Regions from separate parts of the Homo sapiens genome. Here regions 1, 2, 4 and 5 are each linked to region 3. Evidence: promoter capture Hi-C in human tissues and cell types (Jung and others, 2019). All regions are on one chromosome and are shown on one strand. The core of a region is centred on a gene start or on the middle of the fragment in contact, and the rest is flanking DNA. Distances in the headings are between cores, read along the strand shown.

The links. The method cuts DNA at HindIII sites, captures the fragments that hold promoters and counts their contacts. A contact is called where the count stands out against the background at its distance.
Region 1: a fragment that was not itself captured here is called in contact with the fragment with the promoter of ETV5 in region 3 in 6 of the 25 tissues and cell types used here (dorsolateral prefrontal cortex, hippocampus, lymphoblastoid cells and 3 more).
Region 2: a fragment that was not itself captured here is called in contact with the fragment with the promoter of ETV5 in region 3 in 1 of the 25 tissues and cell types used here (hippocampus).
Region 4: a contact is called between a fragment that was not itself captured here and the fragment with the promoter of ETV5 in region 3, in 1 of the 25 tissues and cell types used here (hippocampus).
Region 5: a contact is called between a fragment that was not itself captured here and the fragment with the promoter of ETV5 in region 3, in 1 of the 25 tissues and cell types used here (spleen).

The regions. Positions count from the first base shown.
Region 1 is chr3:186,236,876-186,239,575 of GRCh38, forward strand. All of the region lies in intron 20 of DGKG (diacylglycerol kinase gamma), which reads right to left. Among named protein-coding and RNA genes, the nearest start is that of DGKG, 120 kb to the right of the region's middle. The HindIII fragment of the contact is 7,185 bases long and covers 1-2,700 here.
Region 2 is chr3:186,273,277-186,275,976 of GRCh38, forward strand. DGKG (diacylglycerol kinase gamma) reads right to left here. Exons shown (of 25, transcript NM_001346.3): 10 at 2,271-2,388. Among named protein-coding and RNA genes, the nearest start is that of DGKG, 88 kb to the right of the region's middle. The HindIII fragment of the contact is 6,398 bases long and covers 1-2,700 here.
Region 3 is chr3:186,107,733-186,110,432 of GRCh38, forward strand. It overlaps ETV5 (ETS variant transcription factor 5), which reads right to left and starts at 1,357. Exons shown (of 13, transcript NM_004454.3): 1 at 1,208-1,357. RefSeq lists enhancers at 80-139, 898-1,876 and silencers at 910-1,009, 1,040-1,669. The HindIII fragment of the contact is 3,753 bases long and covers 27-2,700 here.
Region 4 is chr3:186,346,502-186,349,201 of GRCh38, forward strand. The region is part of intron 1 of DGKG (diacylglycerol kinase gamma); the gene reads right to left. Among named protein-coding and RNA genes, the nearest start is that of DGKG, 14 kb to the right of the region's middle. The HindIII fragment of the contact is 4,747 bases long and covers 1-2,700 here.
Region 5 is chr3:186,330,112-186,332,811 of GRCh38, forward strand. The region is part of intron 1 of DGKG (diacylglycerol kinase gamma); the gene reads right to left. Among named protein-coding and RNA genes, the nearest start is that of DGKG, 31 kb to the right of the region's middle. The HindIII fragment of the contact is 7,911 bases long and covers 1-2,700 here.

The DNA.
Region 1 (2,700 bases), core at 103-2,602, 130 kb after region 3:
CACATTCCGCAAGTACTCTGAGTTTCTAACCAACAATGAAAACATTCCACAGTTAGACTTCTCTTTCTAGACACTCACTGACAGTGACATTAGAATTAGGTGGCTTTTATGTATAGATTTCATATGCAAAACCCTTCATGGAGACTTAATCTGGAAACTTCATGGTGGGCTGGTTTTTGGCTATCTGGAAGACTTTGACGGGATTCTTGGCTCCTCTGCTAGTACTGATTGCTGCCTGTTTGTGGGACTGAGAGTCCCTCTCCTTCTCCCTAAGTTGAAACCCTCTTTCCTCCATTCTTTTGACTTTATTGCAAACACCCTACTCTGTGACTACTGGCAAAAGTGTCTTCTTTTTATTAATTCCTCTGTCCTTGCCAGGGCCACCTCATAGGTGTGAGATGTGGACTCCAGGGCCCCACACTTAAGAGGGCTCAGTGCTTAGTTTAATGCTTTGCTGTCCCATTTTTGAGGAAGGGGCCTCACATTTTTAATTTTGCACTGGGTCACACAGATCATACAGCCAGTCCTGCTCCTTGCTGTGGACGTGGAAACAGGGAGAATGCTCACACCATACAAGGTATGACTGGATGGTGTACCTGTTCTCCTCCCCTTTGGAACTCAGCAGGCATTTTCCCACAGAGACAATCCATAAAGGCAGATGATGCCAATGACAGCTCCATCCTCCTTAGCCTCAGTTCCTTCATTTCTAAAATGGGGACAGTAGCACTTACCCTTGCATGTTATTGTGAGCAATGAGTGGGATGATGTATAAAGTACTTATCAGAGTGTCTGGTATACATCAGTGCTTGCTCAATGAAATCTATGTGAGACAGCAGTTGCGGCAAACAGAGCTTGGACTCTGGAGTGAAGAGCTAGGTCAGAAATTAAATTAGCCCCACTGCCTAAAAAATACATGACTTTTGTTAGTTGACTTGGTTTCTTCCAGTGTCAGTTCCTTTATCTGTAAATGGGAATGCTAATATTTATCTTGAAAGGTTGTTTTGTGATTTAAATAATTTAATGTATTTAAAGACCCTAGTTCACCACTTGGCATCTAGGAGGAGCTAAAAAAATGAAAACAGTTCTTAGTCAGGTTCCCCTTTAACACTATTGCTACACCTAAAACAACCAATTTGGCCAGGAGTGGTGGCTCACACCTGTAATCCCAGCACTTTCGGAGGCCATGGCAGGCAAATCACTTGAGGTCAGGAGTTCAAGACCAGGCTTGCTGACATGGTGAAACCCCATCTCTACTAAAAATAGGAAGAAAAGTTAGCCAGGCGTGGTGGTGTGTGCCTTTAATCCCACCTACTCAGGAGGCTGTGTAGGAAAATCACCTGAACCTGAGAGGCAAAGGTTGCAGTGAGCCAAGATCACACCACTGCACTCCAGGCCAGGTGACAGAATGACTCTTTCTAAAAAAAAAAAAAAAAAAAAAAAGACCAAAAACATCCCCCAAAAAGAAAACAATCCATTTGCAAATGATGTTTGGGATATGACCATTAATAAGTTCTTACATATTATACGACTTCCTGTATACTATATCACCTATGAAATGTAACCACCTTGTATGTTAAAATAATTTTGTAAAGAATACTTGAGCACTATTTTTCCTTTTCTTTTGCTAGACGACGATTTCCTTGAAGGCAGGGGCCACATCTTATGTGCCCTTTATTCCAGATCACTTTCAAACACTTTAGAATCTCAGTTGAATCAAATTTCTCTTTTGTTCTTTATGCCAACAGTGAGACGATAATCTCCCTAACATTCCTCAATTAGCAATTAATGATTAGCCTATTGATAACTAGGAGGTAGACAGGGCCAAAAATAACCCCATCTCTGCCGTTAAAGGCCTTTTCTTTTTTGCCCATCATACATGGCTCGTATTCCTGCCTCCTCGGTTCTGGTTCTTGCTCCATTAATGAAACTATTCCATCAGAGAACATAACTTGGTTTTCTGGAACCCACTATCTTCCCTGGCAACAACCCATCTAGAGAGGCCATGGAGGAAGAATTTCCTGAAACCCCAACATTTGAGTCATAATTTGATGCCTCTTAGGATTCAAAGAGGCCTCAGACCTGTGACTTTTAAACATTTTGGGAGTATAGGTTCCTTTAAGAATCTTCTGATAGTTATGGACATTCTCTGCAGAAAAATACATTCAGTACCTTAGTACAATTTCAAGGTGTTCTCAAAACCCCTGAAGCCCTTGGATCCCAGGTTAAGAATTCTTGTTAGAATAGCCAAGAAAAGGGAATCAGCAACGTGAATGATTCCGGTTTCCTGGTAAGTGTTCCGGACCTGACTAGTCACTCTCCCTTGCTGAAAACAAAACAAAACAGAACAAAACACAGCAATGACAACTCCCAAGATTTAACCTCAAGATTATCCCTGAGAGTCCAAACCTGGGCAGTAATGGTAAAGGCTTCCGGCCAAGCAGTAACTACTCTTTGGAGAACCTCAGTTCAGCTGAGTAAAATAGGCCTTGTTTGATAATGCCGTTTACATTTCCAAATCCTGGGTATCAAGCTTTCTTCCTATGCCTTGCGGCCTTTCCTAAGTTTAGCCGCTGGTGTAATGGGGTAACCATGGCAACAACCACCTGCCTATTTAAAACCATCTCCAATGCTAAATAAGGAAGCCTGAAGAAAATGGCTGCTTGCCTGCCTCTCAGTGGACAAATTGGGCACTCCTGGGTA
Region 2 (2,700 bases), core at 85-2,584, 170 kb after region 3:
ACGGGCCTAGAACTTAATGGGAATGAGATTGATCTATAAAATGTGGGTAAGAGCTGGGTTTGAACTGGCGCTGGGGAGACTGTTGTACCCCTTTTTTTTTTTTTTTTTTTTTTTTTTGAGATAGAATCTCACCCTTTCACCAGGCTGGAGTGCAGTGATGCAATCTCGGCTCACCGCAACCTCCGACTCCCTGGTTCAAGTGATTTTCCTGCCTCAGCCTCCCGAGTAGCTGGGATTACAAGCATGCGCCACCATGCCCAGCTAATTTTTGTATTTTTAGTAGGGACGGGGTTTCACCATGTTGGCCAAGATGATCTTGGTCTCCTGACCTCGTGATCCACCCGTCTTGGCCTCCCAAAGTGCTGGGATTACGGCGTGAATCACCGCGCCAGGCCTGGCGGACCCCTTCTTTAGCCCGTTGATGCTTGGTCTTTGTGGACAGCGGGCCCAGCTCTGCCAAGGCGACTTCTGTGGCTGAGGTCACTTGCTGCCTAATTCACACGTGCATGTTGGATAAAGCACTTCAGCCTGGAGCACAGCCAGCGGGCCTCCCTGCAGCAGCAGCTCCCCGGTGTCTGGTGGGTTCAGGCTGAGTGTTGCTGTCCACATCACGGGGCGGGCGGCAGGGCTCTGTGCACCCACATATTCTGGTGCCTGCCATGCCTTCTTGCTGCAGCCCCTCTGCCTTCTCCTCCTGCTCCCTGTGTCCCCTTCTTTCCTACTCCTTATCACTCTTTTCCCCCATCTCTTTTTGCTGTCTCCCTTTCCAGTCTTCCTCTCTGCTTTTTCCTCTACCACTTGTAGTTTTTTCCACCTTTCCACTCTGACTTTACTAAAGGAATTAAAAAGTGAAACAACTGTAGAGTTTTAATTCCTATTGCCTTTACAGAATGTAAAATGCTTTTTTTGTTTGTTTGTTTTTTGTTTTTGAGACAGGGTTTCACTCCGTCATCCAAGCTGGAGTGCAGTGGTGCAATCTCAGCTCACCGCAACCTCTGCCTCCTGGGCTCGAGTGATCCTCCCACCTCAGCCTCCTGAGTAGCTGGGATTACAGGCGCATGCCACCATGCCCAGCTAATTTTTTTTTAGTATTTTTATTTTTTATTTTTTTATTTTTATTTTTTATTATACATTAAGTTCTAGGGTACATGTGCACAATGTGCAGGTTTGTTACATGTGTATACATATGCCATGTTGGTGTGCTACACCCATTAACTCATCATTTACATTAGGTATATCTCCTAATGCTATCCCTCCCCCCTCCCCCCACCCCACGACAGGCCCCAGTGTGTGATGTTCCCCACTCTGTGTCCAAGTGTTCTCATTGTCCAATTCCCACCTATGAGTGAGAACATGCGGTGTTTGGTTTTATGATCTTGCGATAGTTTGCTCAGAATGATGGTTTCCAGCTTCATCCATGTCCCTACAAAGGACGTGAACTCATCCTTTTTTATGGCTGCATAGTATTCTATGGTATATATGTGCCACATTTTCTTAATCCAATCTATCATTGATGGACATTTGGGTTGGTTCTAAGTCTTTGCTGTTGTGAATAGTGCCACAATAAACATACGTGTGCATGTGTCTTTATAGCAGCATGATTTATAATCCTTTGGGTATATGCCCAGTAATGGGATGGCTGGGTCAAATGGTATTTCTAGTTCTAGATCCTTGAGGAATCGCCACACTGTCTTCCACAATGGTTGAACTAGTTTACAGTCCCACCAACAGTGTAAAAGTGTTCCTATTTCTCCACATCCTTTCCAGCACCTTAGTATTTTTAGTAGGGACAAGGTTTCTCCATGTTGGCAGGGCCGGTCTTAAACTACAGGCCTCAAGCAATCCACCTGCTTCTGCCTCCCAAAGTGCTGGGATTTCAGGTGTGAGCCACCGTACTTGGCCCCAAATGCTTATTAATTTTTAAAAAATAAGTTTCCTCTGAACATACCCAGAATAAATATTGACTAGAAAACCCAACTAAAAGTAGTATGAGAAATTTTAAATTATTTGTGGACTTTAATAATTTCTTCTAGGGGGTCAGTGGCTCATAAAAAGCCTCCAATAATAAATAGTCCAAGACCTGTCCATTGGACTTGGGTAGGGTAAAAACAGGACATGAAGGCCTCGCTTTATTCCTTCTGTTGGGACAATATGGGTGGTCCCTCAAGCTGGGAAGCAGAAATACCAACATTTTCTCTGCAATGGATCAACCAACCATGCGCAGAGCAAGATAGTGCCTGGGGGAAGAGGTTTGAAGGAAATTTACTCACAAGTGCAGCACAGGCCTTGCTTGCGGACGCCCATGAGCATGATATGGCAGAAGTTGCAGTAGGTTGGTTTCTTGAAGTGCTTCATGGTCCAGGCGTGCCGCCCATCCCCCTTGGAGCCCTGCAGGGGTAATAGGAGGTGAGACCCCAAGCTGGCTGCCCTGAGATGGAGGAAGCCAGGGGCTGCCTCTTGCATGTTCTTCCTTTTCATCTCATTTAGAAGATGAGTTATTGATATTTTTTACTGTTTTAAATACAAATAAAAACAAAATTTTTGTGTGTGTGTTTTAAAAATTAGCAAATATTAAAAGCAAGAAACATCTGAATGGAAGCATGTGTGTGTGGGATAAAATAAATCCTCTCCCGCATGGCTGGCAGAAGCATAAACTGAACAACAATCTGATCTATCTATCTATCTATCTATCTATCTATC
Region 3 (2,700 bases), core at 107-2,606:
TCCCCTGTGGCGCGCAGCGGGCCCGGTTTTATGAATGGGAGAGCGAGCCGCGGCCGCCACATCAGGTAGAGGCTGTAACTGGATCTCTAGCGCTGGGCCCCATTCACAAAACAAGACACACTTCCACCCAATTCTCAGCCTTCCCCATTCATGAAAACTCCTTCAGCTGCGCCCCCGCCCCCATTTCCAACGCACGCCCAGCCTCCGACGCAGGCCCCTCACCCCAGCGTTTTAGGAAGAAAGCTCAATGCTTCATTCACAAAAAGGGAAGAAAAAAAAAAAAGCCGCAGGGAGCAGCGAGCCAACGAAAGAAACCCGCTTCATTCATAAAGTCACCCACATTCATAAAAACGAGGTGCGGCGCCCGGCGCTACCAACCGCTTCCAATCCCCCCACCCCCAACATCTCTCCCTGGCACCCCCTCGTCGACCAGGAGTTCGGTTCCCCCCCGAGTTTTCTCCACCCTCTGAAAATGCGGCCGGAACCCTAATCCGCTGCGAGGCTGCAGCATCTTTCGGTGCTGTCCCCTCCACACCCGTGTTATCCCCACCATCCCCAGGCCGCTGTTCCGGTGCGCCCCGATTTTCTCGAGTCGCCGCACAGCCGGACGCCCTCAGCCTGCTGGGTGGGAGCAGGGCGACTGGATGTCCACTTTCCACCACCTGAAACTTGCAAGGCCTGCGTAAGTTCCTGGTCGACCCCCGCCCCCGCAGGCTGCACTTGCCTGTGTCATTTACCCCCTCCCGGTGCTCTGGGGGGCAGCGCCTCTCAGACATTCCCCTCAAACTGCTTCCCGCCCCCTCCTCCCAACTGCGGAGCTCCGCCAAGCGTCTCTTCTCGCGAGCCTCCAAGTCCCCTCGGGGCTCTCGAATCTCCAGAGACTGTGAAAGCCTCGCAACTCCGCGATCCCCCATCCACTCGGGAGCCCCCGCACTCGCGCTCCGGGGCGCCTCCCCCACGACGTGTGGAAAGCCGCTCTCCCCGCGCTCCGGAACCGTTAGCCGCACCCGCCCGACGCCTCCCAGGAACCAAACCGGACCGGGCCGCGGGGGGAGGGGGCGGTCAACCCGGGGGGGGTCACCCCAGCTACTGCACCCCGACTTTGAAGATTCTGAATCAGCCCGTGAACTCTAGCCGGCTGGGCCTGTCGGACCAGTGGCCGGACGCCCCTTCCGATCTCCCCCCTGCCCCCGCAAAGCCCCCTCACCTGAGGCGGCCTCTCTCCTCCCCTTGCAGCGGCCCCGGCGGCGCAGGCGCGCTCACGCACGCGCGCAGCGGGCCTGGGCGCCTGGGCGAAAGGCTGGGCCGAACCGCTCCGAAGACGGTGAACCGCTCCGCGCACCAGCGGCTGGACTCTGCGCCGCAGCTGCCAACCAGGCTGGAGCGCTGGCCCGGCCCCCCGCGGCTCGCTGCTCCGCCCGCCGCCATTGGCCCGCGGCCCTAGCCCAGCCTTGTTCCCATTGGCCAGAGGCCGTTCCCGCGGCTGTCCATCACCTCTTGTTTACCCTGTCTGCGGGCAAATCCAACCAAGCCGCCCCATCAACTCCGGCCCCCATTGGCCAGCGGTGCATCTCTCTCCACCCCCTCAGGGGTCTGTTTTACATAATTTATGCACCGGGGGCCATTGGCCAATCAGCACAGGCTTGTTTATATAATGAATGTAAGGACGTTTTTCATTCATAAAAAACGCGACCTGAGGGGGAAGCTTAGCTGAGTCAGTGAAGCACTTAAAGGGGCCGAGGCCAGGAGGAGCCGCCGTTACTTCCCTTCTCGCCGCTCTCCCGACTTTTCACCGAGGCACGACTCTTCCCCCTTACCCACTCACCCCCACTTCTCCATCCAGCAAAGCCCCGACCAGAATTGGGTCTCTTGGCGCCAGACGTTCGCAGCTGCAGCACCAAGCAAAGTTATCATTTTAGAATTCAGGGGAGAGGAATTCGTCATTCCACACAAACTCGCTGACCGACCTGGGCGTTTAGCCCACAGAAACACAGAAAACGGAAACCGAGCCCTCTAATCTTAGTTACCTTTAAGAGAGGCCTTAATTTCTTTTAACCAGGTTTCCAGTGGGAAGAATAAGCAGCATCTCCTTTTAAAATCTCAGCTCTCAAACAGATTTTTGTTACTATTTTGTACTGGCAAGGCCTAAGACCCAACCAAATCCCGTTTTCTCTTTAACTGCGGCTCGTAACCTCCGCCAGAGTGGGTTCTGTAGTCGAGGTGAGACAGGGTTCGGGCTCAAAGAAATCCTCTCCGGGGACAGCAGCAGCCAGTCCACCGACCTGGAAACCTAAATCCCTCCGAAACGGGCATGCAGACTCAGACTTTTTGCCTCCCTCCCCGGGCTGCTTGTTTTCCATTTAAGTATTGAATGCAAGATGGTGTATTTGCGAATTAGATCCCGTGCAGCTGGGAACGACGAGAAGCGGCTCTGCTTGCCAAACGATAGGGCACTAACTGCAATTGCTGAGATTCTTAACAGGGTGTTCCAGGAAACAAATAAACAAACAATCCTCTCCCCTCTCCGCCCCCTTACCCCCTCCTGTGAAGGCCGTGGGGCGGCTCTATCTTCTCTCCGGGGATGCTGGGGGCCTGTGACGGAGCTCTGTTCTCGTCCTGCTGGAGTGCCCTGCCATTCACGCCGCGTGCCAGCGGTGGGGAGGAAAGATGCTAAGTGACAGGAGAGAGCCCCTAGCAATG
Region 4 (2,700 bases), core at 20-2,519, 240 kb after region 3:
AGAAGGAAGCATTCTATAAACTTGGTGCTTGTCAAACAACAGGTCTTTTTGGTCTTGTTCTCACTGAATGCTGAAATCAATAATGGTGAGTGGATGTACACAGGTCTTAGACCTACATCAAATTTCAAGAATAGATTATCCTAGAGTAACTATGCTATACTATACTATACTATACTATACTCAGTTTTATTTGCCTCTTACTGCCAGAACAAGTTCTACATTTTTTGAAATGTATCATAATTTTTTTACGATGGGATCAAAATATCTCAATATTTCATAAACATTTTAATAGATTTTTTCATTTCTTAAATGTAAAGTCCCATATATGTCCATTCCATCAAGCTCCTTATAGCCTTAAAACTTTTATACACTAATTTGTTTTTGGCACTCAATTTGTTGCAGATTGACAGATGTATGTTAGATTTTCCCTCTGCAATTGTGTTTTGACAATTTTATTGTATCATTTAATGATTTTTGTATTAAATTTTACTTTTAGCTATAGTTTAATACTAATATCACCCTCCTTTCTTTTTGTTTGCATTTTCCTGATATATCTATGTCCCTTCATTTTTTATCCCTTTCTCTCCCATTTTGTTTAAAACAGCATATATTTAGAATTGGGTTTTGACCAATGCGTGGTTCTTTGTCTTTTAATAGAAATGATTGGCCAGGCGGGGCGGCTCACCCCCGTAATCCTAGCACTTTGGGAGGCCGAGGCGGGCGGATCACGAGGTCAGGAGATCGAGACCACTCTGGCTAACACGGTGAAACCCTGTCTCTACTAAAAATACAAAAAATTAGCCAGGCATGGTGGCACGCGCCTGCAGTCCTAGCTACTTGGGAGGCTGAGGCAGGAGAATTGCTTGAACCCGGGAGGCAGAGGTTGCAGTGAGCCGAGACCACAGCCGCTGCACTCCAGCCTGGGCGACAGAGTGAGACTCAGTCTCAAAAAAAAAAAAAAAAAAAAAAGGAAATGATTAAACCATTCACACTTAATGTGGTATGTTTGACCTGGCTTCTATCATCTTATTTTATACTTTTTATATTAATGTTTCCTTGCTATTTCCTTTTTTACGTATTTTTTTTCTTTTCTTTTTTTGAGGCAGAGTCTCACCGTGTTGCTCAAGCTGGAAGTGCAGTGGCACAATCTTGGCTCACTGCAACATCTGCCTCCTGGGTTCAAGTGTTCTCCTGCCTCAGCCTCCTGAGTAGCTGGGATTATAGATGCCCACCACCACGCTAGGCTAATTTTTGTATTTTTAGTAGAGACCAGGTTTCACCATGTCAGCCAGGCTGGTCTCAAACTCCTGACCTCAAGTGATCCACCCACCTTGGCCTCCTGAAGCGCTGGGATTACAGGCATGAGCCTCCGCACCCAGCCCTTTTTTAGTTTTCATTCTTGGCTATAATGTTCCAAATCTTCCTCCTAATTTTGAAGTTAAGCATGGTATTTCTAGTTTTATATTCATCTACTGTCTTCTTATTTAAAAATGTATTTAAACCTGTATTTTTCTGTGTTCAGCAATGAAACAATATTCAATGTTTCCCACAGCACAAAATGAGACATTCAGCACATCAAGGTTTTTTGCCTTGAGTAATCTGAGTTTTTAGCCCCACATTATTATCATTAAGTTTCTTATGTATCTTCTTTGTTGAGAGTAATTTTGGCAGTTGCATTGTTTCCTGACTATATTAATAACATGTAAATACTAAGTCTATGTTTGTGTGGGTTTATTATTCACGCCACAGCTTTGATATCACATCTTTTCCATTCCCAAGCTTTAATGTTAATTTCTCTGTTGACCAGAATAGTTTGAGTAAATACATTTTTTAATAAAGGATTTTAGTGGCCTACTTGCTGGGTGCTTTTTTTTTTTTTTTTTTCCTTGTCTGAGAATAGCTTTTTTTTTTCTGTACAAATTACTGAATAGAGAATTCTGGCTCATAATCTTTTTTTTTTTTTTTTTTTTGAGATAGGGTCTCACTGTTGTTCAGGCTGGAGTGCAGTGCTGTGATCACGGCTCACTGCAGTCTGCACCTCTTGGGCTCAGGTGATCCTTCCACCTCAGCCTCCCAAGTAGCTGGGACTCCAGGTGAACATCACCATTCCTGGCTAATTTTTGTATTTTTAGTAGAGGTGGGGTTTTGCCATGTTGGCCAGGCTGGTCTCAAACTCCTGGGCTCAAGTGACTGCCTGCCTTGGCCTCCCCAAGTGCTTGATTTATAGGCATGAGCCACGGCACCGGTTGGTTCATTATCTTACTACCCCCAAATTCCACAGTCATACCTCAACTTATTTCTGATATTTAGTGTTGCACAATGTCTGACACTTGCTTATTTTTTCTCTGAAAATAAAACATTGTTTTTCTGTTTTCATACCAACAGATTTTTTCTTATAATTAATAATTTTCACCAGAATATACTTTTAATTTTTCCTGGTACACATTAACTATTTTGAAGTAATGTCAGGAAATTTTTTTTTATTTAAAAATTATTTAAATTTAAGTTCTGGGATACATGTGGAGAATAGGCAGGTTTGTTACATAGGTACACATGTGTCACGGTAAATTAAATTAAAAAAAAAAATTAGAGACAGGTCTCGCTCTGTCACTCAGGCTGGAGTGCCATGTCACGATCTTGGCTCACTACAGCCTTGACCTTCTGGGCTTAAGCAATCCTCCTGCCTCAGCTACCTATATT
Region 5 (2,700 bases), core at 97-2,596, 220 kb after region 3:
AGAACAGAAGATGCAAGTTGCAGTACAATTGTTGATAGTATCACTTACAAGTCACTTAATTTACCATAAAATATACATCAACACTCACATTTTATATTAAAATAATGACCTACACAAGTATAGGCTATCAGGGTTATAAAGTTATAACAGATATAGACTTATAATCAAGTTACTTTATTATGCTTAATCTGATAGTATTTTGTAAGTTACATAAGTTGCTTGAATTTATCAATGAACTGTCACTATTGTGGTCGTCATTTACATTGGTGGTCCCCCAAACCATGCTTCCTGATATTTATGCCCTTTCTAGTTTCTTCCCTTGAGTCCGGGCTGCACCTGTAACTTGCCCTAACCAAGAGAGTGCATTAGAAGTGGTGCTGTGCCTGTGTCAAGCATAAGCCTTGAGAAGGCCCACTTCTGAGTTCCTAAGGGCACTGAACTGCCATGTAAGAAGTTCAGCCATTTTGCTGGAGAGATCACATAGAGACCACATGGAGAGGCCACGTGGATGAAGGGAGATCTAACATTACAGAGAGGAGAACTGAGCAACCCATCTGATGACAAGAACTGAAGCCCAAGATGTAAGACCCCAGTCAAGCCATTCCAGCCAGCACCCAGTCATCTAAGTCATCCTAGCTGTGTTGTGAGACAAGAAGCCATTTGGGATTTCACAGCCTTGGCAGACATCACACGTGGAGCAGAGATAACCCATCCCCGCTCAGCCTGGTCTGGATTCCCAATGCACAGAAACACATAGACGAATAACATAATTGTGGAGCAACAAGATTTTGGGGCAGTTAGTTATGTAATCGTAGATAACCAAGACAACTACACAAGCACTTTTAGGGGCAGGTTATGCATGTGTCTATTTGGCAACAGAATCTGCATGATTCATGCTTGAACTGCAACTTATTCATGTCTTAAAATCTAGTAGTTGGAAAATTATAGGCTAAAAATACCTTCGATGCAAATATGTATCACTGCCTGCTGTAGGGTTAGCCAAATATCCTTCACAAACTAATATGATAATTATGAAGTCAAGTGAACTATAATTTCTAATTAATAAGCAAGAATAGCAGTAGCTGAAAACCACAACCAACTCAAAGCAAGACTGACATGCAATGACAACAACGGGGCCTTCCCCAGGTCACAGGATTCTAACCATCTACTTGAGTGTGGGGGCTGTAGCTGCTGAGCATTTAGAAGCAGCCTGATTTCACAGATAACTGAATTAAAGCCCTTGGGGAACTTTGCAATGATCTAATTTAAGTTTATGAGTGGTAAATATGAGTAATACCTAATAACTCATTTAGCATATTACTGGCATGTAGTCCTTAAATAAACATAAACACAAAAGTCTTGGGATTGCATTCTATCCATAAGAATTCAGAGAGGATTTTCATTTGAGAGGTACTTTGTACACCATTAGTGGCCTCAGAGTGAATGTGAGAATCTCTGCCGCAAGATAGTCATGAAAATGTCAGGCTGAACCAAATGCCCAGGTGGGGGAGCTGGGAGTGGCTGGTACCCAGAAAAAGCTTTTGGGCTCCAAGGAGAAGTTGAGGACTGCTACTTTGGGGGTCTGTCTTTGGCACAGGCAGGCAGTGTTGGTCTAAGAAGAGTGTTTGTAGCTCAGGGGCATCACAATCTGAGGATTGGTCATTCATTCATTTGTTCACTTGCTCAACAAATCACTGTAATAACAAGCAATAGCAGCAACCTCCATTTATAGATTGCAACACATCTTGCGCTTTGCAAACTTCATCTGTAATAGTCACCAAACCCTGTGAGGAACGTATGTTTTATGCCCATTTAACATCTGTAGAAGCAGGCCCAGAGTAATTCTCCCAAGTTATCCTACTAGTAAATGATGAGACTGTATAGGAATCTAAGTCTGTGTTGTTCAAAGCTCATGGTAACATCTTTGGATGAATGAGTGCTGAGTACCTAAGTGTTGAGCCTGTGCAGGTACAGATGCCATTAATAAGCCACCTGTGGAGATGCCACGCCCTGGTCCTCAACATGGAAGGGGAATGGAAGCCAGAATAAAAACCATGGCCTGTTCCTGAAAAGCCAACATTATTTGAGGGAGGAAAAGCTATATTATATTAAACATGAGCACAGAATGGAATAGAATGCAAAATATCCAGGAAATTTGTAGGCAAAACATGGGACTTCGAAAGAAAACCTTGCTCTTGCCCTGGGGCCACCTCTGTGAATCCTGGGAGAGTTCACTCAGCTTCACCACTTGGGGCCCTTAACAGTGGAAATTTAAGGAAGCAGGGTTGTGAATAGCAATGGAAAAGTCTGATTCTGAACTCCAGTGCTGAGGGGCTGATGTAGGGAAGGGATTGTGAGTAGAGGTCTCCTTTATGAAATTACTACCTGGGGAAGCGTCTGCCCTAGACTCATGCCCTGTGTCAGGGAGACTTCTGCCCAGAGCACCAAGCACAAGTCTGACTTTGGAATTAGAGACCAGAATTCAGATCTTGGCTCTATCCTATATAACTGTGTGACATTAGCAAGTTCTTCTTCATCTCTAAATGGGAATGGTGAAAATATTAACACATGCTTCCCAAGGTTATTATGAGATTATTTGTATAATGTTTATTATGGTTTGAATGTTTGTCCTCTCCAAAATTCATGTTGAAATTTAATCTCCAAAGTGGCAGTATTGAGAGGTGAGGCCTTTAAGAGGTA